3 separate regions of the Homo sapiens genome follow, and all the other regions are linked to region 2. Evidence: promoter capture Hi-C in 16 types of primary human blood cells and fetal thymus (Javierre and others, 2016). All regions are on one chromosome and are shown on one strand. Each heading gives the region's core, a stretch centred on a gene start or on the middle of the fragment in contact. The rest is flanking DNA. Distances are from core to core; before and after follow the strand shown.

Evidence for each region. Contacts are between HindIII fragments. The CHiCAGO score rates a contact against its expected background, and 5 or more counts as called.
Region 1: a fragment that was not itself captured here is called in contact with the fragment with the promoter of LIN7C in region 2 in 9 of 17 cell types (non-activated CD4 T cells, total CD4 T cells, activated CD4 T cells and 6 more); the score reaches 9.6 in non-activated CD4 T cells.
Region 3: a contact is called between a fragment that was not itself captured here and the fragment with the promoter of LIN7C in region 2, in 8 of 17 cell types (naive CD4 T cells, total B cells, non-activated CD4 T cells and 5 more). The highest score is 7.9, in naive CD4 T cells.

Annotation. Positions count from the first base shown.
Region 1 is chr11:28,096,541-28,099,654 of GRCh38, forward strand. KIF18A (kinesin family member 18A) reads right to left here. Exons shown (of 17, transcript NM_031217.4): 2 at 1,083-1,453. The coding sequence starts at 1,407. Among named protein-coding and RNA genes, the nearest start is that of KIF18A, 10 kb to the right of the region's middle. The HindIII fragment of the contact is 3,247 bases long and covers 1-3,114 here.
Region 2 is chr11:27,505,237-27,508,415 of GRCh38, forward strand. It overlaps LIN7C (lin-7 cell polarity scaffold C), which reads right to left and starts at 1,533. Exons shown (of 5, transcript NM_018362.4): 1 at 1,480-1,533. The coding sequence starts at 1,516. It overlaps BDNF-AS (BDNF antisense RNA), which reads left to right and starts at 1,616. Exons shown (of 7, transcript NR_033315.1): 1 at 1,616-1,662. RefSeq lists enhancers at 1,094-2,293, 1,450-1,579, 1,650-1,939. The HindIII fragment of the contact is 9,378 bases long and covers 1-3,179 here.
Region 3 is chr11:28,116,405-28,119,357 of GRCh38, forward strand. All of the region lies in intron 3 of METTL15 (methyltransferase 15, mitochondrial 12S rRNA N4-cytidine), which reads left to right. Among named protein-coding and RNA genes, the nearest start is that of METTL15, 9.5 kb to the left of the region's middle. The HindIII fragment of the contact is 7,760 bases long and covers 1-2,953 here.

The DNA.
Region 1 (3,114 bases), core at 285-2,784, 590 kb after region 2:
TCTACTTTTTTTCTTAGAGTTAAGAAGATTTCAAAATCTCTAGAGACATATGAAGTTTCATGAAAGAGGAAAAGAATATCTTCTTAAAAATGGGAATCACAGTAGTACCAATCAATAAACCACACTCCATCCTTACTTGATCAAGAGGGTATGTCTTCCATGATAAAACTGAAATGAATCAGGAAAAGACAGTGAAACATGTTATAGTTGTGAGCTGTCTTGGGGAAAATATCATAAATACTAATAATTACAAAAATAAGATATTAATAATGGTGTTTAGTGCCTGGTAGGCACTGAAAAACTGGCCATTTTGCATCTTGGGTATCTCTCTCTCTCTCTCTCTTTTTTTTTTTTTAAAAAGGAAATCAACATGGCTTTCTTGAAAGGCCAAAAAAAGCACTAAAGATGCTTCTTGGGCTAACAATGAGCTAAAGGGCATGAGATAATTAACATGGGATCTTAACACTTTTACCCCCTTTCCAATTTTTATTTTAGGTTTGGGGGTACAGTGCAGGTTTGTTACATGGGTAAATTGCATGCTGCGGGGTTTAGTGTACAGATTTTTTCATCACTCAGGTAAGGAGTGTAGTACCCCATAGGTAGTTTTTTGATCCTCAGTCTCCTCCTATCCTTCGCCAACTTAAACATTTTTATTTCAATGTGCCATGAAGAAAAACTGCTGAAAAGAAACTGTCAAATGTTCAGAAATGTCTGACTACTCTCCAGGAATAGATAATTACATAGGTAAGCTGTAGGAAAAGTTATAAATACAGGTTATGAGAAAACTGATGTTAATTGCAATAAGCATGTGGTTTAATAACATAGGCAACTGAAAGGACAGATGTCTATAGGGGCCACAGTAAGGCCCTGGAAGAGAAAGGTTTACAAATGATGTATAAGTTATATATGATAACTAAAATTTCAAAGTCTATATTTACAGTTCAAGTCTATTGAATTTCTTAAGAATTTTTAGCATACAAGCTCCTTAAATTTGATTATATTTAGAAGGGTCAAGTAGATGTCCGTCCTAATGCAAAAGTGAAATCGGATAGAGAAATTAAATCCCAAATTGAAACAAATACCTGTGCAATTATATCCATTCAAAAAACTACGAAGAATTGGCTTAGTAGTGTGTTCAAAAACTTCTGACTGAGTTGACGTTTCATCAAAAACAGCATCAAATACAAATTTAAGATCCTTATTTTGTTTCTTTATAACATTTTGATTTGTAGTTTTCTTTCCATGGAAAAAACTGACTTCTTCTTGTTTGGGATCAAAAACTAGGATATGTTTATCCACAACATGAACCACTTTATGAAATCCAGCTGCTTTTTCTTTAGTGTTTTCCGGACGTACACGAACTACTACTTTCATATGGTGGCACAGGTCTTCCTCAGTGACAGACATTGTTGATTATCTTGATTCCTATCTGTATAAATACTTGAATACTTCTCTGAAATTAAAAAAGAAAATAAAGTTTTAATATCAGTTTTTACTTTCATGCAAAACAACTGGCATGTAGTATTCATTCAAAAAAGATGTTAATAATTCTGTTTCACTCACTAGGTAAACACTGGGGGAAAAATACATACATACGTAGGCACACACAACACACACACACAAATATATGCACACATACACACATATGCACTTAAGTACCCTAAAACAAACAATTAAATGGCACATACGTACACACAACTACGATAAAAATCTCTTTACCTGAAATATTAGTAGGATATTTGGCTTAAACTCAAATACTATAGCTGAACCATATATAATCACAGATATGCTATCCTAAAACCCAGATTTGATTTTCACAAGCCCTCCAGCACTATTTCAGCTTAGGTCATGGGAATGAATAGAAAAGGATCTCCCAGAACCATATCAAGGTATGATTGGAGAGCCTTAGCTTGTGAACTATTTTTAGTAAAAGTGATCTTGGCTGCAAGCCCCTTGGCCGTGGAAAGTGATACACCCAGGCTGGTCTCTACCTGTATCTCAGAAGCCCATAGGGTTAAAAATAGTTCCAAGGATGCATTCAACTAGATAGCTCAGGTCTGAAGGTGATAGAGATGGCATAGACTCCTTGGTGTATTCAGAGACCTAGTCTCTGAATATTGATCCTACTCTCTGCTTTCTAATTGTGTGCAAGTTTAAGGAATCAATGATAGCAGGTTTAAAAATTATGGTCTGATTTTATGACTGGTTCACATGCAAAGAAGAAAAGTAAAGTAACAAAGATCAATAATTTGGAAGTCTCAACTATCCAGAAAATACTCTAGAATCTGCAGACCCAAAAACCAAAACAAAAAAACAAACAACAACAACAACAAAAAGACAAAAAAAAACCAAACCACAAAACAAAATAAAACACCCCAAAACAACAAGATCTGAGTAAGGACCAAAAGGTGAGACTTAGGACGATCCTGCAATCCCACTTCTGAGTATATATCCAAAGGAATTAAAATCAGTATGTTGAAGAGATATTTGCCCTGCCATGTTCGCTACAACATTATTCACAATAACTAAGATATATAAACAATCTAAGTGCCTATCAACAGATAAATAGATCGAAAAAATGTGGTATATGCACTCAATGAAATACTATTCAGCCTTAAAAAAGACTAAAATTCTGTCATTTATGACGACATGAATGAATCTAGGGGGCATTATGCTAAGTAAAATAAGCCAGGTACAAAAAGACAAATATCACATGATCTCACTTTTATGCAGAATCTAAAAATATGAACACAGAGAAGTAGAGTAATGGTTACCAGAGGCTGAGGAGGGTGGGGTGGGTGGTAAAAGGGGAAATGTTGGTCAAAGGGTACAAAGTTTCAGTTATACAAGAGGAATAGTTTTGGTGATCTATTGCACAGCAAGGTGACCATGGTTAATTGCTAAGAGTACATTTTAAATGTTCTCACAACAAAAAAATGGTATGTGAGGTGATGGATATGTTAATTAATTAGCCTGATATGCTCATTCCACTGTGTACACATGTATCAAAACATTACATTGTATCCTATAAACTTACACATTTTTTTTGTCATTTGTAAGTTAAAATAAAAGAGACAAAAATAATAAATTCACCCAAAACAACATTTAAGTAAG
Region 2 (3,179 bases), core at 283-2,782:
CAGGAGAATTGCTTGAACCCGGGAGGCAGAGGTTGCAGTGAGCCGAGATCGCGCCACTGCACTCCAGCCTGGGCGACAGAGCAAGACTACGTCTCCAAACAGCAACAACAAAAACACAAAAGACCAATACGTTAGAATCTTAACTAGCTTTCAAAGAAAAAACTTACTCCTGTTAACACCAAACAGATTTGCTCCCATCTATAAAACACAGTGCCACTGTGCTCAAGAGGAAGATGTCAGAGACTTAGGCCTAACTCGGCAAGTCTTCCCAGAGTAGCTAGTCCTCTAAAATGATGCTTTAATAGGCTTAACGGAAACAATCTCATTTACAGTGAGGCTTCCAAATGGTGAACACGGTAAAGAGCAAATCAGCAACATTAAGTGCACATTTGTTTGTGGGAAGGCATTAGGAAAGAGGTTTTTCTAAGTACAGTAATTCTAAAAATGTGTTTTCTTAGGGAACAATAGTAATATTTAGACTAATTGCAAATGTTAATATGTGCAATATAATTTCAGTCTCCATCCTACATATACATTTTTTTTTACCACCAGTACTCAAAATGTTTATTTGTACTTCTCAATTCCTATCAATGATTTCTAATGCTGGTGTATGAAAAGCATGCTTGAAATTGTTTGAAATAAAGGACTTAGGGACAGAGTGGAATGCTGGAAATCTGTAAAAGGACTGGAAACGCTGGAATGCTGGAAATCATGGTAGGCGCATAGCCAGTTATTTTCGTAGGCTTCTCTATCTCTAATTACTCAGCAGAGGTGGTTTTATTTTCCTTGACAGTCTGCTCTAGGAAGCAATCAGCCAACCAGTTTGCAATTGTAGGGTTTGTAAGAAATGAAAAACACTGCACCTGCAAGTGTTTTAGCATCTACCACTATTCGGCTTACTTACGTAACCTCCTTCCCAAGACCAAGTCAGTAGGATTGTTTTTAAAGCAACCTCTCCATTTCTAGGAGGGGCACAAAAGCTAGCAAATACCCCAACCCGAATACAAGCGAGGTTGTGGAGAAAGTAATGAAGGAGTTTGTGTGCAAACAGCGGGGAAAGGAGGTTCTGTTGAATTGTACCGTGTGTCCGTTCTCGTGCTGTACAGGCAATGAGTGTAGTCTGTGCGAACCGGGTGTGTGACGTTTGCTTTTCGGGTGTACGGGTCTCCGAATGCTGCTTCTGCTGTGCTCACCAAGGGAGCGCGTGTGCGGCGTGTGTCTGCGAAGCGGGCAGGTTGTGTTTAGTTGTGCTGTGCCTTGGAACAGTCCGTGTGAACAGAGGAGGGCTTACGGTTAACAGACAAAATACCGTAAGCGCCCTTCCTAGAGCCAGGCACAGAGACAACGGCGGCCTCTGGCGCCGGCACAAGGGACAGCGTGGCCCGGATCTCAGAGCCTGGGTCACTCCTCCTCCCCTCCAGCGACACAGCACTCCCCCAACCCTTCCGCCCACCTCCGCCGAGCCTCGGCTGCACTCACCTCTCTCCAGCCGCACGGGTTCCCCTAGCGCCGCCATCTTCTCCCTTAACCTACAGACCCACAGGAAATGACGACAGAAGGGCTGAGGTGGGGGGGCGGGGCCTAGGGGAAGCCGGAAAAGTGAGTACCGGCTAGTATCGCGAGATCAGGAAGGTGGCCGAGTGTGTCGCCGCGGCCATCAGGGTAAGGGTACCTGGACTTGCGGCTTTTTAGGTCGGCCTGGCTCCGCTCCTTCCGCGGTGACGAGGTCCCCCGGCCTCCTAGGGTTGGGAAGAGCTGCTTTCCTGACTCTCGTTCCCTGCCTCAGGCTTCCCTTATCCCAATCGCTTCGAACCCTTGGCTCAGCGTAGAGGAGTCAAGCCTGGATTCTAGTCCCACCTTGCCCATTAGCAGCTCTGTGACCTGGGACTGTTCACTTACCCTCTCTCAGCCTCAGTTTCCGCATCTGTACAACGAGAGGTCCTATCTCTTAGGTCCTTACAATTTTTAAACTCTGGGATTCGGTGGCAATTAAATGTGTAATGACATGTTGTCAGTTCTCAATTTGTGACAGCATTGCTTTAAATTTAAAAATCCACGGCTTGAATCTTCCCTCCAAATCTGTTAAGGGGTGGAAAGTACAAAGAGCATGAAACATATCTGGGTGAGGGAGAGAACAAGGTGCTTTGGTGCACCACAAAGTAACAATTTTATAAGCAGCTGATTCTTATAAAATCTTAAGTAAATGAAATATTGTGAAGCAAATAATATTCTTAATGCATTACAGATTTTTGAGCCACTTCTGAAATTTTCGCGAACCAAGAAGAATTTTAGTACTTGGATTTGACTAACATTTATCCAAGCCCTTAGTCTGTACTGATACTGTGGTAGGTGTGTTTACATCCAGCATTTCAACACTTCATGATGGGACTGTTTTAATAACCTGTTTGCCCCTGGTCCACCCTTTCCATTCACCTTTAGTATTTTCTTCTCCAAATCCATCATGGATGCCACCACTATGCTCCTTTTTCTCCCCTTGAATTCTGATTTCATCATCACAAGTTCTGTTCAGAAACTTTCAATGGTTTCTCTCCTGTTTCCTATTTCTAAAGCCTTGCATACTCTGACCCTAACTCATCCAACTAACTTCATTTCTCATTACCACTAAGTGCAACCACCACTTCAGTCCAGATAGTATAGTTTCAACCATATTTATTCCTGATTCCAAGTCTTTTTGTTTGTTTTAGAGACAGAGTTTCTCTCTGTTGTCCAGACTGGAGTGCAGTGGTGCAATCACAGCTCAAGAGAGCCTCCTGTCTCAGTCTTGCCAGTAGCGAGGACTACAGGCAAGCACCACCATGCCTGGCAAATTTTTAAATTTTTAGTAGAGATGGGGGTCTTGCTATGTTGCCCAGGCTGGTCTCAAACTCCTGAGCTCAAGCAGTCCTCCTGCTTTGGCCTCCCGAAGTGCTGGGATTACAGGCGTGGGCCACTGTGCCAGGCTCCAAATCTTCATTTGTGTTGTTCTTGTGTGGAATGCCCTTCTTCATCCCTTCCTAGTCTCCAAACTTTGTACACACTCAGTTGAACCCATTTCGTGGGTCCCTGCTGAAGGCATGCCACTTCTACCAAGCCTTTTCTCCATATTATTCCCCTTTTTTGTCCTCTGATGGCCTAAATACGTTGCAGTAACACTCAGGTGCTTATCTCTTACTCGTTGT
Region 3 (2,953 bases), core at 281-2,780, 610 kb after region 2:
TTATCTAAATCAGTTATTTTTATATCTTTCTTCTTTTTCCAACATACTGCTTAGTGGTTAAGAGCAAAGATTCTGGAACTGGACTGCCTAGGTTCTAAGCTCTTGTCTAGGAAACATGTGCATGTGTGCACACACCCAGCTTTTCTTTTTTCTGAAACTTTTTCATGTTGGATCAGGCAGTTTTCATGAACTAAATTTAAGCTATATGTATAAGGTGTACTACAATGGCTAGATGTTGCTCATACAAAAGCCATCAGTGATACGATGTGGGTTCTTCATAAAAATATTATTTACCTTCTCCTCAGGCAGTATACACAGGCAAGTTTACACACAAAATAAATCCAGCATTCTTTAAAAAATTTTTTTTTAAATTTTAATTGTTCTAGAGAGAGTCTGTCTCTGTTGTTGAGGCTGAAGTATGGTGATGTGATCATAACTCACTGTAGTCTGGAACTCCTGGGCTCAGGTGATCCTTCCTGTCTCAGCTTCCTGAGTAGCTGGTCCTATGGGTGTGAGCTGCTGCACCCAGATAAACCCAGTATTCTTAAATGAATTTACGTGTATAAAGTATTTAGCTCAATGCTGTCATGTAGTGGGACTCCAAATATACATGAAAATGTAAATTAAAATATTAAATTGGATAAAACTTCTTGTTGAATGTGAGTGACTTCATCAAAATGAAATTCTCTTCGTGCTTTAAAAAGATCCATAATGCAGGGGTAACAATTAAAATCCATACATAAGTGTGAGTTTTAAAAAATGTATATTGAAATATATGTGATATTTGTTAGTGTGTGTATATATACATACATATATACACCTATATATGTATGTGTGTGTGTGTGTGTGTGTGTGTATATATATATATATATATATATATATATATATATATATATGAAAGGATAGGGGCAGTTAGTAAAAATTGGAACCAAATTCAGTGGCTTGAACTTGACTTCTGAAACTAAAAACCGAAGCACATTGTATTAGTTTATTAAACCCTAGTAACAAAGCCAAATGCTTATGTTGCACTAAGCCATGGAGTAGAAAAACAAACAAAAACAAATTGCACTACATCTTCTAGCAAATCAGTATTGTATCCAACTATTTTCTAAAACCAAGTGGAATAAAATTAGATAATTCTACAACTTGACCTACACTGCTGTTTCATTCTGTTCAAGTACCTACAAATGTAATGTTGGTTTATTTTGGCATTTTCCTTTTTCTGATTTGAGTTGGGTTTTCCAGTAACTTTTTATAAGAAGTTTAATGTTTCCAATGTTACTTCTAAAAACTTTCTTGTGAGGTACACTTAGAGACAATGTTATTTCTTACCTTTTCTGCTGTCTGGCAGACAGCTTTATTCACTATTCCCTTAATCTTCAAGTAATAAAGAACTGGTGACAGTCCTTGGACAGGAAAGGTCTTCATTTTGTCCATAATCCATTATTTGCTTCTCTTCTTCCTGAGCCTTTTCCCCAAAATCATTTTCCTTTTCAAACTATGAGTCATACACTCACTTGCATCAGTCACTTACTTACTTACTATTACCTTTTTCTGCATCACCTTCAATGATGAATTTACAGATGAAACTTTTTTTTGTTTTTTTGTTTTTTTTTGAGACGGAGTTTCGCTCTGTCGTCCAGGCTGGAGTACAGTGGCACAATCTCAGCTTACTGCAAGCTCCACCTCGCAGGTTCACTCCATTCTCCAGATGAAACTTTTGATGTAACAGGAACTTTAAAAAATATCTGAATGTATTTGAAGTGAGGTGCAAGGCATTTTATAGTTCTTTTTTCTTTAATACTTGAAAGGTGCTCACCTAAAGAAAATAGTGATTTTGGGAATTTCTTTAGCATCATAGCTAGTTTACTACCTATGTAGTTTACTACAGATTTGTTTTTCAAATACACTTAAAATATTTACTAGTTTTAATTATGAGAAAAATATCCTCTTTCTCTTGGAAGGTATTTAAAATTTTAATTGTTAAGGAGAAATTAAAGAAATTATAATTATTTCTCCCTGCTTAGTTTGCATCATTTCATATTCTAGGTGAATAACTTTTTGTGAAAATGTATTATCCTAAGAACTTTTTTTTTTCTCCTGGAGATATTTTAGTCTGGGCTAATAGATTAACTTTTTATTCTTGATTTCTGAAAACTGGAGAAAAAAAAGTTTGGTTATTTTCTAAATAGCTAAATTCTGCTTAGTTTAAGATGGTAGCAGTTTGGAGAGTATAGGAAACCTGATACTCTTGCCCCAGTAGTAGTGCTAATTTAGCTTGGTGCCTTGGGGCTTCTTTGAGTGTTATTATAAGGGTACAAGTACCCCACTAGTACAAGTAGCTGTGCAGTTTGGTCAATTAACTTTCCATGGTTGTGCCTCAGATTCCTTATCTGTAAAATAAGGAAAGAGAACCTATCTCACTCCTGGTTACTGTAAGGATTAGATGAGTTAATATACATAAATTGTTTAGAATTGTATCTTCCAAGTAGTTGAGCCCAATAAACATTAGCTGTTACTATGGGAATAGAAAGAGTCAAAGTTGTTAGCTAGATTAAAAAAGAAATTCAGGAGAAAAATGCAAGGGGAGAGCAAAGGTGGAACCAACCTGTCTGGAACTGAAAAAGTACTGTTTCCTCTTTCTGGAACTCTCCTCATCTTCATCCTTCAGGCCTGGAGTCAGGTTTTACCTTTTTATGGGAACTTTTCATGAGCCTCCACAGAAGACAGGTATCCCAATTATATATCATGTACTTTTCTTCATAGCAACTTAATAAGTCATAATTATAATTATGATGAGATTATTTGTTCAATATACACCTCTCTTAGTAGATTGCCCTCCATGAAGCCATGGACATATTTGTCTTGCTTACCATTATATCTCTAGTGCTTAGCACAAGGCCTGCCACATGGTAGTTTTGTAATGATGTTTTAAGTGAATGAATAAAAGTCA